Linked DNA regions of Homo sapiens: regions 2, 3, 4 and 5 are each linked to region 1. The links are contacts of gene promoters, found by promoter capture Hi-C in blood cells and fetal thymus (Javierre and others, 2016). All regions are on one chromosome and are shown on one strand. The core of a region is centred on a gene start or on the middle of the fragment in contact, and the rest is flanking DNA. Distances in the headings are between cores, read along the strand shown. Region 1 holds the start of MAP7 (microtubule associated protein 7). Region 2 holds the start of SLC35D3 (solute carrier family 35 member D3). Region 3 overlaps MTFR2 (mitochondrial fission regulator 2). Region 4 overlaps BCLAF1 (BCL2 associated transcription factor 1). Region 5 overlaps BCLAF1 (BCL2 associated transcription factor 1).

Evidence for each region. The method cuts DNA at HindIII sites, captures the fragments that hold promoters and counts their contacts. A CHiCAGO score of 5 or more calls a contact.
Region 2: the fragment with the promoter of SLC35D3 here is called in contact with the fragment with the promoter of MAP7 in region 1 in 9 of 17 cell types (total CD4 T cells, endothelial precursors, erythroblasts and 6 more); the score reaches 14.4 in total CD4 T cells.
Region 3: a fragment that was not itself captured here is called in contact with the fragment with the promoter of MAP7 in region 1 in 1 of 17 cell types (megakaryocytes); the score reaches 5.4 in megakaryocytes.
Region 4: a contact is called between a fragment that was not itself captured here and the fragment with the promoter of MAP7 in region 1, in 1 of 17 cell types (megakaryocytes). The highest score is 5.1, in megakaryocytes.
Region 5: a fragment that was not itself captured here is called in contact with the fragment with the promoter of MAP7 in region 1 in 2 of 17 cell types (megakaryocytes and M2 macrophages); the score reaches 8.4 in megakaryocytes.

The regions. Positions count from the first base shown.
Region 1 is chr6:136,549,074-136,551,726 of GRCh38, reverse strand. It overlaps MAP7 (microtubule associated protein 7), which reads left to right and starts at 1,305. Exons shown (of 18, transcript NM_003980.6): 1 at 1,305-1,385. The coding sequence starts at 1,319. MAP7-AS1 (MAP7 antisense RNA 1) reads left to right here. Exons shown (of 1, transcript NR_186370.1): 1 at 1-1,004. RefSeq lists silencers at 1,004-1,353, 1,394-1,573, 1,584-1,633 and enhancers at 855-1,392, 1,931-2,469. The HindIII fragment of the contact is 6,247 bases long and covers 1-2,653 here.
Region 2 is chr6:136,921,009-136,923,661 of GRCh38, reverse strand. It overlaps SLC35D3 (solute carrier family 35 member D3), which reads right to left and starts at 1,361. Exons shown (of 2, transcript NM_001008783.3): 1 at 795-1,361. The coding sequence starts at 1,233. RefSeq lists an enhancer at 1,833-2,339. The HindIII fragment of the contact is 1,879 bases long and covers 249-2,127 here.
Region 3 is chr6:136,238,570-136,241,222 of GRCh38, reverse strand. MTFR2 (mitochondrial fission regulator 2) reads left to right here. Exons shown (of 8, transcript NM_001099286.3): 6 at 1,403-1,757. Among named protein-coding and RNA genes, the nearest start is that of MTFR2, 10 kb to the left of the region's middle. The HindIII fragment of the contact is 756 bases long and covers 987-1,742 here.
Region 4 is chr6:136,255,767-136,258,419 of GRCh38, reverse strand. BCLAF1 (BCL2 associated transcription factor 1) reads left to right here. Exons shown (of 13, transcript NM_014739.3): 13 at 1-1,793. Among named protein-coding and RNA genes, the nearest start is that of MTFR2, 6.8 kb to the right of the region's middle. The HindIII fragment of the contact is 5,895 bases long and covers 1-2,653 here.
Region 5 is chr6:136,275,706-136,278,358 of GRCh38, reverse strand. It overlaps BCLAF1 (BCL2 associated transcription factor 1), which reads left to right. Exons shown (of 13, transcript NM_014739.3): 4 at 1-494; 5 at 1,851-2,516. Among named protein-coding and RNA genes, the nearest start is that of BCLAF1, 13 kb to the left of the region's middle. The HindIII fragment of the contact is 6,928 bases long and covers 1-2,653 here.

The sequences.
Region 1 (2,653 bases), core at 56-2,555:
AAAAACTACCTCTAGCCATCTGGTGCTTTATTTTTATTGATTAGAAGTCTCTGATAAGACTGATTTGAATGTGATTTAGGAATATCACATTCTAAATGGTCAGTTTGCCTATTCCATTATAGAAATGACACTACGGGAAAATTCATCATCACAGACCACAGCAGAAGTGTTCTTTAGTTAAAGCTCTACCTAGTCATCCAGAAAGCCAGTAAGTAAACCAAATAAAAATAGTTCACTGGGCTCAGAGTGGCAAGTTTTGCATGCAAAGATCGTGAAAATTGTAACCCTAACAATAAATCCAATACTGTTCTCGACTCTCTTGTGTGTCCAGTGCTGCTGCAGTCCTTGGAAGGCTTTTAAACTGTTCAGAGCTTGCTGGTTATCTTCAGCCAAGCCAGAGAGTGGGAGTGCAGTGCATTTTAGTGTAACCATGCGGAACTGGTCGCTCCTTGATTTTGTGCCGTATGTTTCCATTTGTGTAGGCTTTTTCCCCCCTCAGTATTTTGTTGCTTATCCTTTAGAGCGAAATTGGTTTTTCCTCGGCCAATAATCTGTTTCTTTAAAAAAAGAAAAATTCGTTACCTATTGCCTTTTTTTCTGGTCTTCCTGAGCAAGCCAGAAGTCACAAGGTCGTTTACTAAACGGAAACTAAGAAAAAGAAAAGCCACATCAGCCGGCACAAGCCTCTCTAACTTGTGTGCCCTGAGGCTCATCAGATGCGAAGTCCTGGCGACAAGATAGGGTCGCCCGCAGTGGCTTCCTAAAGCGCAGATCCAGGCCGGCTCCCAGCGTGGAATCCGACCCATGTACTTCGCCTCTCCACGTGGCATCAGATGCTCTGCCGGCTGTCACCGTGAACTCCAGCCCTCGCGGAGCCGACACTGACCTGGCTACTTCAGAGTTCGGAGGGAAATAGCGTCTCCGTACCCTCGCCCCACCTGGGCTGCTCCTCGGACCGCCGCTCGTCCCAGACTCCAGGAGGCGCCACCAGGCCTCGCTGACCCCGCTCCATATCTCCGGGAGCCCTCAGCTGGTCGGCCGCGGCGACCGGAAGCTCCGGACTGAGGTACTGGTTCCGCCCGCCGCTCTTCCAGCCGAGACTCGGCAGCGGCGGTCGGAGCGGCTGCCACGCCGCACCTGCCCGCGAGGGGGCGCGCCAGGCCCAGGCCGCAGCCGACTGCCGCGCTCTCTGTCCCCGCCCTCCGCCATCCCCGGACTGCGCTCACCTGTCTGGGCCGCTGGCCTGGGAGGCGGGGGCCGGCGGGAGCCAAGCCGAGGAAAGGGCGGAGCGGCTCTCCGGGCGCGTCATCGGAGCACCATGGCGGAGCTAGGAGCTGGCGGCGACGGCCACAGGGGCGGCGACGGCGCAGTGCGAAGCGAAACAGGTGACCGCACAGCGGGGATAGTGGGGGTCCCGTCGGGCAGGGGACGGCGAGCGGGGCCGGCGGGCTGGCACCGAAATCACCCGGCGCCGGCAGCCCCCTCCCCGCCCGCGCGGCCGCGGCCCGGAACAACCGGCCCTGCGCGCCGCGCACCCTGCTCCGAGAGCGCCTTCCCCCGCCCTTCGCCGCCGCGGCTCGGCCAGCCCGGCTCGGCCCCGGCCGGGGTTGCGGCCGCCCTCGGGCGCTCCACCGCGACTTTCCCGCAACAGGTGGAGGCGAGCCGGGGGAGGAAACGGAGAGACCCCGGCCGCTGCCCTCCCCGCCGCGGCCTCGGGTCTAATTCAGTTGAATGGGAAATCGTATCCCCCAGACCAAACCAGTGGCCAGAGAGTCGTCGGCCAGGTGCGACTGGCAGGACGAGCAGTTTCTGGGCACCTCCTCCCGCCTTCCCTGGTCGCCCCGGGTGCCGGGGGCTCCTCAGCGGGGTCGGTGTGGGGCAGGACCGCGGGGTGAGCGGCCCGCCCCCCAATCTGGTGCCCGCAGTGGCGACGACCGTCGTCCGAGGGGACCGAGCTCGGGAGGGCCGGGGCCCAGTGCAGCACGGTGGGGGTTTGCGAGTGCGGGCTTGACGGGATCAGACTTTCGTTGACTTGTCGGAGTTCTCAGAGTTTTTTGTTTTTAGTCTGTGCAGGAGCCCAAAGGAGGATTGTTGGCTCTGCAGCCCGGGATTTGGTGGTCAGGCCTCTGTGTTGAGGATACCCCTCCCCCACAACCTCCAGGGGCACACTTAGGGACAGGGGATCACGTCCCCAAGACCAGCAGCAAGGCTTCCCAAGACCAGCAGCAAGGCTTCCCAACCCCGCCCATCTCTCCATAGTATGAAGCCGATTTTTCTCCCTCGTGATTTTTTTTTCTCCAGAGGCTATCTTGCAAATCCGTCCCTCTCCACTGGTTCCCTCTTCTATTCTTGGCCAGTAAGCTGTTTCTATATCTTCCTACACTTGGGGATGGGGGCAGTGAGGCAGTTTCTTACTTTAAAAAGAAATTCAATTCTTAGACTCTCCAATTGCAAGCTGTTTTCCACTTCCATACGGTCACAATCGGAAGCATTTGTTTCCTAAATGTAAGAATCACTGTCTCCCCACCATCAAGTATGCTTATTTTAACGTGAAAGGTCCAGAGAGCTCTGAAACAGTATTTGCAAATTATGTATCTGCTATTGCTAGGAAGAGGTTGGGTACGTAAAGTCTAATGATTTAATCCCTTCAGCC
Region 2 (2,653 bases), core at 112-2,611, 370 kb before region 1:
CCGCCATATCCCCGGGTCACTCCATCTTCCTCTGTCCAAGACAAAGGCCCCGGAGAGCGCAGATGCCCTCGGGGCAGGTGCTGTGGCTTCCCCGAGCTGGCACCGAGGTCACTTGGGCGCGTGGTACCTGCACCCCGGAGCCCCTGCCCCGTGGGGCACCAAAGGGAGAGGGAGCCCCAGCCAGTGGCCTGCAACCCGGAGCGGGCCAGGCGCGGGGGAGAACGCCTGTTCTGGCCCCCAGTGAAGCTTCCCCCTGCCCAGGCTCTCGTCTCGCTCAGCACCTGGGTCGTCTGCCCCAGGGCCGCAGCCCCCTGCGCAGCACGAGACACCCCGCAGTAGCCCCGGGAACCCTCAGCTTCGCCCCCATCCCCCACCTCCATTCCAGCCCCTCGTGACCCAAGGAAGTTCACGGCCCCCTCCTTCCGGCTTGGTCCAGGCTTGGAGGACTCCAGCTCCCAGGCTCAGGCGGCCCTCCCACCTCTCCCGGAGAATGGGGTGACAGGGGAAGACCAGGAGAGGGGGCGACAGGAAGGGCGATGCCGGGTGAAGCATGGGCGAGGGTCGGAAGCCAGGACATTAGGGGGCAGGGGGACTTGGTGGGGCGCTGGGGAGCTCTCTGGGTCTCGGAAGTCCCTTTTGCGAGCTGAGCGACCACTCTCAAAGCTCTCCGGCTCTCTCTGCCTCAGTCTCCCCATCTGGAAGTGAGGTCGTTGAACTCAGTGATCCCCGCGGTCTCTGCCCGACGGAGCGGGGTGGGTGGGGTCGGCTGGGGGTCGGCGCGGGGGCCCGCTCACCTGCCAGGGCGGCGCCGCAGGTGGTGATGAGCACCGCCGCCAGCACCCCTGGCGAGGGCGCGCCGTTCTTGAGCACCAGGACGCCGATGAGCATGGTGACCAGGGGCAGGCAGCGCTTGAAGACCACGTACATGGGCAGGCTGAGGCCGCGCAGGGACCAGAGCGTGAGGCTGGACTGCAGCGTGGAGAGCACCGCGACCCCCGCGAAGGAGCGCGCCAGGCTCAGACCGAAGGGGGGCACGGCGATGAGCCCGAGGCGCCGCAGCAGCTCCAGGCTCAGCGCCGCGGTGGAGCTGGTCAGGCACTGCACCAGGGTCAGGAAGGAGAACTGGTAGCGGCTGATGAGGAACTTGAGCAAGATGTTGAGGGAGCCCGAGAAGACCCCGTGCGCGATGGCCACCGAGATGCCCAGCACGCGGCCCCGGCACAGCTGCCGCATCGCGCCGGCCTCGCCGCACCCAGCGGTGGCGGAGCTCCGCGACCTGCGCGCGAGGAGCCGGGAGCAGCGGAGTGAGGGCGGCGGGGGCGCCCGCCCAGCGCGGCGGCGAAGGGCAGGGGGCGCCGGCTCGGCTGCAGAGGGCAGCTCCGGCCAGGCGTTCTTGCGGTTAGGCAGCTCTGCGTCCGACTGCCCCGCAGCTCCGGGGAGGCAGTGACGAGGGCGGGGGACTCCGAAAAGTGGCAGAGGTGGCGGGGGGGCCGGTCTGAGAGGAGTGGCGGGAATCCTAGCGACAGCTATTTGTAAGTGGGTGATGAGCCGCGGTGGGTTGTGTCCCGCGCGGTTTCACCGTCAGGGAAGACGCTCTGCGGAGGGAAGCGGGCGGCTGGGCGCCCCGGGGCGGCTGCCGCAGGGCGGGACGGGGGCTCTTGGGGCGCGGCGCCCCTCTCCCCCCACAGAGCCAGCGGCTCTCGCTTGCCCCTTCCTCCTGGCCGAGGGGCTTGGGTTGGAGGGATCGGGACACAGCTAAAGATTTTAGAAACAGCGCATCAGGATCGAGCGCCGTTTATTGGTCGCAACAAGTGACGGCGCCCCCAGCCCCCTCGCCCCGGCGCTGCAGCGGCTTTTTCCACCCACTGTCCCTCCCGGTGCAGCGGCGGGACCTCGTCCAGCTGCCCGCCAGGGAAGCGAAAACCGTCGGTGCCGGCGGGCCCCCGAAGCTCCCGATCCCGGCGACGACGCCCGGGCATCGGAGGAGGAACCCGCGGCCCGGGGCGCTGTCCAGGGGGTGCCTCGGAGCCCGGAAGCTGGCTCCTTCCGGTGCCAGGCCACGCGCACCGCTCTCCGCACGCCTTCCAGAGAGGGTCCCGGGATTATGCGCGCGGCTCCGGGGAAGCTTTCAGGGGGTTCAGTGGTCTCGCCCAGCAGCGGGGCCTGGTGGCGGGGACACATTCGAACTGAGGCAAAGATGAAAATAAGCAAACGCGCAGAAACGAAGTCACTAACACGAGTAGCCACCACCAGGAACCGAGGAGCTCGGGGGCGACGCTTCCCGAAGCGTGGGAGGGGAGGCTGGCTGCGCTCGCAGAATGGGAGAGTAGAGGGGGAGGGGGCGGGAACCCGGGGCCCCTCACCCTGCAGGGAGACTCCGCGTGGCGTTCTCCGGATCCCAGGGAACTGATCCCAGGGAACCCTCACCCTGCGGGACCGTCGTGGGTTGCTTTCGGAAGCAGGACAACCGGCAGGCGGAGGGCGGGGAGAGTCACCACCTCCCTGGGCCAGGGTTCACACCTTTGCACCACAGGACTTGTGAACTGTGTGTTTCCTATATGACTAAGAGAAAAAGGGAATTCTAATTTTGGAGAGGGAGTAAGGCTTCGGTAACTCTTTGTTCTGAATTCAGTTCCCTGGAAAGTAACTCGCG
Region 3 (2,653 bases), core at 115-2,614, 310 kb after region 1:
ATAAATTAAGACACATTTGTAGTGAGGGGATGGCTTTGATTTAAAGAAGAACTAGCTTTACTATACTAGAAGATTGTATTTTTGTATTAAAAAGTCTGTTGTCTTCTAAGTAAGCTTTTTTTTTTTTTTTTTGAGACGCAGTCTTGCTCTGTCGCCCAGGCTGGAGTGCAGTGGCACGATCTTGGCTCACTGCAAGCTCCACCTCCCGGGTTCACGCCATTCTCCTGCCTCAGCCTCTCGAGTAGCTGGGACTACAGGCGCCCGCCACCACGCTCGGCTAATTTTTTGTATTTTTAGTAGAGACGGGGTTTCACCGTGTTAGCCAGGATGGTCTCGATCTCCTGACCTCGTGATCTGCCCGCCTTGGCCTCCCAAAGTGCTGGGATTACAGGCGTGAGCCACCGCGCCCGGCCCTCAGTAAGCTTTTCTAACTCTTCATGAAAGCATTGGATATTAAAGAGGAAGAATGCATTGGTTTGAAAGAGGATATAGGTTTGAGGCATCATATGTTTATAGTTTTTAGTTATTGCTGCTACACTTCCACCAAGTTGAGGTGAGTCATGTTTTCCAGATGATTGTTTTATAAATTTATAGAGATACAACTTGCTTTAAACTTATGCACACACATACACACAACATGTATGTATGCGTGTATAAAATGTAAAGCAATCTAGGTACTGAATGCTTTTCACAACAGATTTGGCTGTAAAGGGCTGTGTGTAAATATAATTGCTAAAAATTTTTTAATACATATGTATATATACAAATGCATAAATACACATATAATTTAAGATATTTATACAGTGTATATTTATAACATTTACATATAAACACATTATATAATATACAATAACTTATATTTATACATAATAAATAAAATGATATATAACTATACACAGTTTTCTTAAGCAATCGTGTTTACCCACAGTCCTTTATGAGCAAATCTTAAAGTGGAAAAGTTAAATACTCAGTACCCATCTTAAGCTTTGCTTAGAAAATAATATGCTTATTTCTCCAATGTCATTATACAGTGAATACATCAATTTGTGTTTCTAACTACAAGTTGTTGATTTCTGTTTTAGCTTTTTTAAAATAGAGGATGAAGTTCAGAGTGTATGTGAATTACTGAAAAAACTCTTTTTTTTGTTTGTTTAAGATGCATTCTCCTCCCCGCTCTGCTCTTGGACCTACACTGAAAATTCCTAACTGGATTAAAAATGAATTCACAATTTGACTTGACTCTTAAATTACTAAGCAGATGGGATTGACACTCTTTCCTTGCTACCATATCGCTACTAGCATTACAGAAATTGCTCCTGTTTTGGTTCTAATTAGTGTTATTAATATATATTACGTTAGAGATAATTGTGCATGATTTTGTAATAAACCACTTTGTTTGTAGGTTCCTTTGGCTTGAGTGACGAGCGCATTAGTTTGGGTCAGCTGTCATCATCGCGGGCTGCCCATCTGAGTGTGGACCCAGATCAGCTTCCAGGTTCAGTGCTTTCTCCTCCTCCTCCTCCACCACTTCCTCCTCAGTTTTCATCTCTCCAGCCACCGTGTTTTCCTCCCGTACAACCAGGATCTAATAATATTTGTGACTCAGATAATCCAGCAACTGAAATGAGCAAACAGAACCCGGCTGCTAATAAGACCAATTATAGTCATCATTCAAAAAGCCAGAGAAATAAAGATATTCCAAACATGTTGGACGTTCTAAAGGATATGAATAAGGTTAAGCTTCGTGCAATTGAGCGGTATGTTGTTGTAATTTGAAAAGTGAACTGAAATTTTGTCAATTTTATGTTTAGAAAAATTATTATGTTTATGAAAATTAACATATATGTCTTTTTTCTTATTCTTCTTCACCCCTGAATACCTCTCCTAGAGATAATGACATTCAATTATTTTTGACTATTTCTTCTTCTAGTCTCTTATCACCATATTTTTGAAACAACATACTTATTTGCTATTTCTTGATATTTTAATTATGTTGACTTCCAATTGTAGGATATTAGGAATATATTTTCTTAGATACTCTACCCAGGACACACACACACATCTTGCCACGTCTTCCTGAAATAGTTAAACCACAATCTTTAGTTAAATGAGTATTCAGAATTAATATCCTTATTATAACAGTGAACATCCACAGTAAGCCATTTCTCATATTGTAACCCAGGCTGTAGGGCAGTGTTGAAATTACAGCTCACTGCAGCCTCGACCTCCTGGGCTCAAGTGATCCTCCCACCTCAGCTTCCTTAGTAGCTGGGACTATAGGCATGTGCCACCATGCCTGGCTAATTTTTGTATTTTTTTGTAGAGATGGGGTTTCGCCATGTTGCCCAGGCTGGTCTCTAACTCCTGAGCTCAAGCGATCTGCCCATGTTGGCCTCCCAAAGCGCTGGGATTACAGGTGTGAGCCACTGTGCCTGGCCCCATTTCATATATTTTGACTACATTTTATTTGTTGAATAATTTTTTTAGAGTTAATAATTGCCTCTCTGAGTTCCATGTGTGTGTGTGTGTGTGTGTGTGTGTGTGGTGAAAAAACATAATGAGCTCTATTCTGTTAACAAATTTTTATGTGTATAATACAGTATCGTTAAGCACAATGTTGTACAACAGATCTCTAGAGCTTTTTCATCTTGCA
Region 4 (2,653 bases), core at 75-2,574, 290 kb after region 1:
TTGTTTTTGTTTTTGTTTTTGTTTTTGTTTTTGTTTTTCCCTTGTCTCCCCTGGGAAAATGGGAAATTTTACAGTTGGTAAATCTAAGCCAAAATTATTTTGAAATAAAGGAATTCTGGATGTCCAGTTTAGTCCTCGTTTTCTTACGTTAATCTGGGACCTTATCACCCATAATATGGTGATTACTTCTCTTTCTAAAAACATAGTAGCTAGTAAATAAGTAAAAAGAATTGTCTTTTCATTCACTTTAAGTAAGATGTGGTATAATTCTTACCATGTGCCATCCTGTCAGTTTTAACAAAGCATTTTCACAGAAATTTGTGTACTAAGACAAACTGACACATTTTGACTCATACAAATGGCAAATTAGTCCTTAAAAATTCTGTGAGAGAAATAACTCTGTGTGTACATACATATGCATGTAAAGTGTTGTGTAAGATCATTGGTAGCTTAATTATACTGGATAATTGTAATGTTATATACAAATTTCTTATATAAAAGTATGCTGCATTATTAACATTTGTTTAACTTTTCTTATTTTTCTTTTTCTGGGTTTCAACTGGAATCCCATTGGTGGGGATGTACCTTAAGTTTCCTTGTGGAATAATAGACTTTCACATCCAGAAAGAGAAGTTCAGAGGCCTTTCTCAATTTACAGAGTTGAAGAGGAAAGGCAAATGGAGGAATAAACTTCATTGTCATTGGGATTAATTTGGCTAGACTCAATCTCTTGAGCCTTAAAATGAGAAAGTAATATCCATTACATGTTTAGAGTTCTCAAATAGTTGATACTATTATTAAATGTTTCAAATTTTATTGGGGTAGATACTAAAAATTAGTACACTGTCCTAATGAAGTTTAAATGAACAAGTTTTACATTTCTTAGGATTCAGGAATATATGGAATCTAGTTGTATTTAATTGACTTGAGAGCCACAGAGATTGTGTTGATTTATGAGCTGGACTCCTATTGTTTTAGAAACATGCAGTAATGATTAACTTGTGTCAATGATGGTAATGAGACCAAACTTGTACATTTAATTAAGGGTACCAGTTCTTTTTATGTTACTAGACTATACCTTGGCCTTTAAAAATGAATCTCACTGATTAAAGAGAACAGGCATTATTAGGATAGCATTCCACCACAACTAGAAACATTCAAATAATGTGTCTTAATTGTAATCTGTATATAGGAAAATTTTTCCTATGGATATTTTTGGTGTTTTACCACAGTGAACTGATTTGTAGCACTTATGAAGTGCAGAAGGTAATATTCTTGAAAATAGAAAAAGGTTGGGTGAGCAGGCTTTAATGCCTTTCCCCCAAGAATATACATCGAATTTTTCTTAATCTTTTGGGGTTGGCCAGCTTCCAGATTTCATTAATAATGAGCTCTGCCTTTAATAAAAGTACATGATCATAGCTACACTGTATGTTTAGGTGGTGTGAAATGATTTATAATCACAGCTTGAACTGTGTTTGCTTGGTACTGTCATAGTGATTACAAATTTCATGGAATGCGAAGAGCAACAATAAATAAAAAATACCACTCACCCTCCAGAATAGTGGATTATTTGCTACCTTGAGTCCTTCACTATGGAAAATAATTTTTCAGTCTCATTTGTACTAGAAGGGAAAACTAAACTTTCTGTTGAGTTCTCAGGATACTTGTAAGGTGGCCGTGAAAAAGAATGTTAAATGCACTTTGAATTATTTATTTATTTATTTATTTATTTATTTATTTATTTATTGAGATGGAGTCTTACCCAGACTAGAGTGCAGTGGCTCGAGCTCGGCTCACTGCAACCTCCGCCTCCCAGGTGCAAGCGATTCTCCTACCTCAGCTTACTGAGTAGCTGGTATTACAGGTGTGCACCACCACACCCAGCTAATTTTTGTATTTTTAGTAGAGACGGGGTTTCACTATGTTGGCCAGGCTAGTCTAATTCTCGGCCTCCCAAAGTGCTGGGATTATAGGCGTGAGCCACTGTGCCTGGCCAGAATTTTTAAATTTTAATTTACTTCTCACATATCCAGCCTGCAGGTTTAATTTATTTTTTATTTTTTACCTTACCAAAAGATTTCCCCACTCCAGAATTGTTTTTGGAAGAAGTTGAATATCATTACCAAATGTACTTTAAAAAAAGATAGGCCTGTGTGTGGTGGCTCACGCCTGTAATTCCAGCACTTTGGGAGTCTGAGACGGACAGATCACCCGAGGTCAGGAGTTCGAGACCAGCCTGGCCAACATGGCGAAACCCCGCCTCTACTAAAAATACAAAAATTAGCTGGGCTGATGGCACTTGCCTGTAATCCCAGCTACTCGGGAGGTTTAGGCACCACAATCACTTGAACCTGGGAGGTGGAGGCTGCAGTGAGCGGAGATGATGCCACTGCACTCCAGCCTGGGTGACAGAGCTAGGCTCTGTCTCAAAAAAAAAAAGATTACAGTAATTAACTGATTAATGTCAGCATACTATTCAAATGGCTTGAAGATACAGACTTGTAGAGTAATACCACCTCAGCATATAACTGAGGAATCAGATTTTTGAGTAATCGTGTTCAGATACTGCAGTAAGGGGATTTGTCAGCTGGGAGAAATGACTTAAAACTTAATTTGTACTTTTAATTGGAAAATGGGATGTAAAAGTCAT
Region 5 (2,653 bases), core at 51-2,550, 270 kb after region 1:
GAAGAGAGTCCGTTGAAAAGTAAATCACAGGAGGAACCGAAAGATACATTTGAACATGACCCATCTGAGTCTATCGATGAATTTAATAAGTCATCAGCCACATCCGGTGATATTTGGCCTGGCCTTTCAGCTTATGATAATAGTCCTAGATCACCCCATAGTCCTTCACCTATTGCTACACCACCTAGTCAGAGTTCATCTTGCTCTGATGCTCCCATGCTCAGTACAGTTCACTCTGCAAAAAATACTCCTTCTCAGCATTCACATTCCATTCAGCATAGTCCTGAAAGGTCTGGGTCTGGTTCTGTTGGAAATGGATCTAGTCGATACAGTCCTTCTCAGAATAGTCCAATTCATCACATCCCTTCACGAAGAAGTCCTGCAAAGACAATCGCACCACAGAATGCTCCAAGAGATGAGTCTAGGGGCCGTTCCTCGTTTTATCCTGATGGTGGAGATCAGGAAACTGCAAAGACTGGGAAGTTCTTAAAAAGGTAAAAACTAAAATACAGAATCTAGATTATAATATTGTTTTTGTTCTTTGAATTCTGTTTGGAATTATAAACGTAAAATTGTGATATGTATTTAACTAGCGGTTTTTACTCTTGACTTCCTTCATTTTAAGATAATTCCAAATTGTTTTTACTCTTATCTGGTGAACTTTGGAAGCTAAGTGTTTTAATAAAAATTAATTTATCCAGCTACTCAGGAGGCTGAGGCGGGAGGATCTCTTGAGCCCAGGAGTTCAAGGCTGTGGTGAGCTATGATTGCGCCTACTGCACTCCAGCCTGGGCGATAGAGCAAGACCCTGTCTCTTTAAAAAGAATTAAAAAAACCTAATTTCTATCCCTCCTCTTAATTTTACCATTTTCGGTCCAGAATTAAAAATACAGATGAGGAGAAGTTGAGTAGCTTAGAGCATAACTAAATGATATATGTTGCTAATAACTGTAAACCTTTTAGAAATTAAGTTTCTTAAAGCATTGAAGGCTTATTTTGTTCTTTTCACTATTAGAATGTGACCTACATAAATAATGCAGCTATATTGCATGTTCTTAGGTGGCATAAACAGTCTGGCTGTCAATATTTAATGATTTCAGCCTGACTATACAAAAGGTAATGGTATTTCTCACTGACTAATGACATTTGAAACAGATACATTGTTTAAATTCTGATTTCAAGTGTTGCTGAAAGTTGCTAACAGTGAAAATTGGTTGCTTCATGTATTGTGATTTGACTTAAAAGTGAGAAAATAGAGGAAACATGCTGTTTGTGGAATAGCACTGCACAATCTAGAATTTATGATTGAACTGATCATTAGTTTCTATGAAATAGTGCCAGAAATCATTATTTTTCTAGAGCAAGTTTATATGAACTGTTCTGTGATTTTCATAAAGTATTAAATTACTGCAGTGGTAATTAAATCCATTTGTGTGAACTCTTGTTTATATTAATAGATAATATCTGGAATTTTGGGGATAATTATCAATAGAATTCTAACAATGTATTATCTATTAGTGGTTCTTAGTTTCAAAAATTAAATTTAGGCAATCTCTAGAAGTTCGTGTTAGTGCAGAATTGTGGATTGTGACTAAATAGGACAGGTTTTTGTGATTGGCTTTGTGTTTTAAACTTCAGAAGTCAAATGTAAATTTATTTTAAAAGTCAGTACATAAGTTCTATATGGATGCTTTCAATGATTTTTAAAAGTGGAATCTGAAAAAGCACTTTTCAATAGGGTTATTTTCTCTCTTGCTGGTCCTGAGGGATTGGGCAACACATTTAAATATGGAAGCGATCTACAGTGAATGCAATCCAGAGTTACTATCCTCTTCTTTGCTTATTCGCAGGTTCACAGATGAAGAGTCTAGAGTATTCCTGCTTGATAGGGGTAATACCAGGGATAAAGAGGCTTCAAAAGAGAAAGGATCAGAGAAAGGGAGGGCAGAGGGAGAATGGGAAGATCAGGAAGCTCTAGATTACTTCAGTGATAAAGAGTCTGGAAAACAAAAGTTTAATGATTCAGAAGGGGATGACACAGAGGAGACAGAGGATTATAGACAGTTCAGGAAGTCAGTCCTCGCAGATCAGGGTAAAAGTTTTGCTACTGCATCTCACCGGAATACTGAGGAGGAAGGACTCAAGTACAAGTCCAAAGTTTCACTGAAAGGCAATAGAGAAAGTGATGGATTTAGAGAAGAAAAAAATTATAAACTTAAAGAGACTGGATATGTAGTGGAAAGGCCTAGCACTACAAAAGATAAGCACAAAGAAGAAGACAAAAATTCTGAAAGAATAACAGTAAAGAAAGAAACTCAGTCACCTGAGCAGGTAAAGTCTGAAAAGCTCAAAGACCTCTTTGATTACAGTCCCCCTCTACACAAGAATCTGGATGCACGAGAAAAGTCTACCTTCAGAGAGGAAAGCCCACTTAGGATCAAAATGATAGCGAGTGATTCTCACCGTCCTGAAGTCAAACTCAAAATGGCACCTGTTCCTCTTGATGATTCTAACAGGTAATTCCATATTGATGCCCAGTAAATAATCTGTGGGCAGTCAGTATTCCAGTTAATTATCTTAAACTTTCTGAACATACCATTTTTATATTTAAACCAATGGTATATTTTGTGTGTGTGTGTGTTATCAATATGTT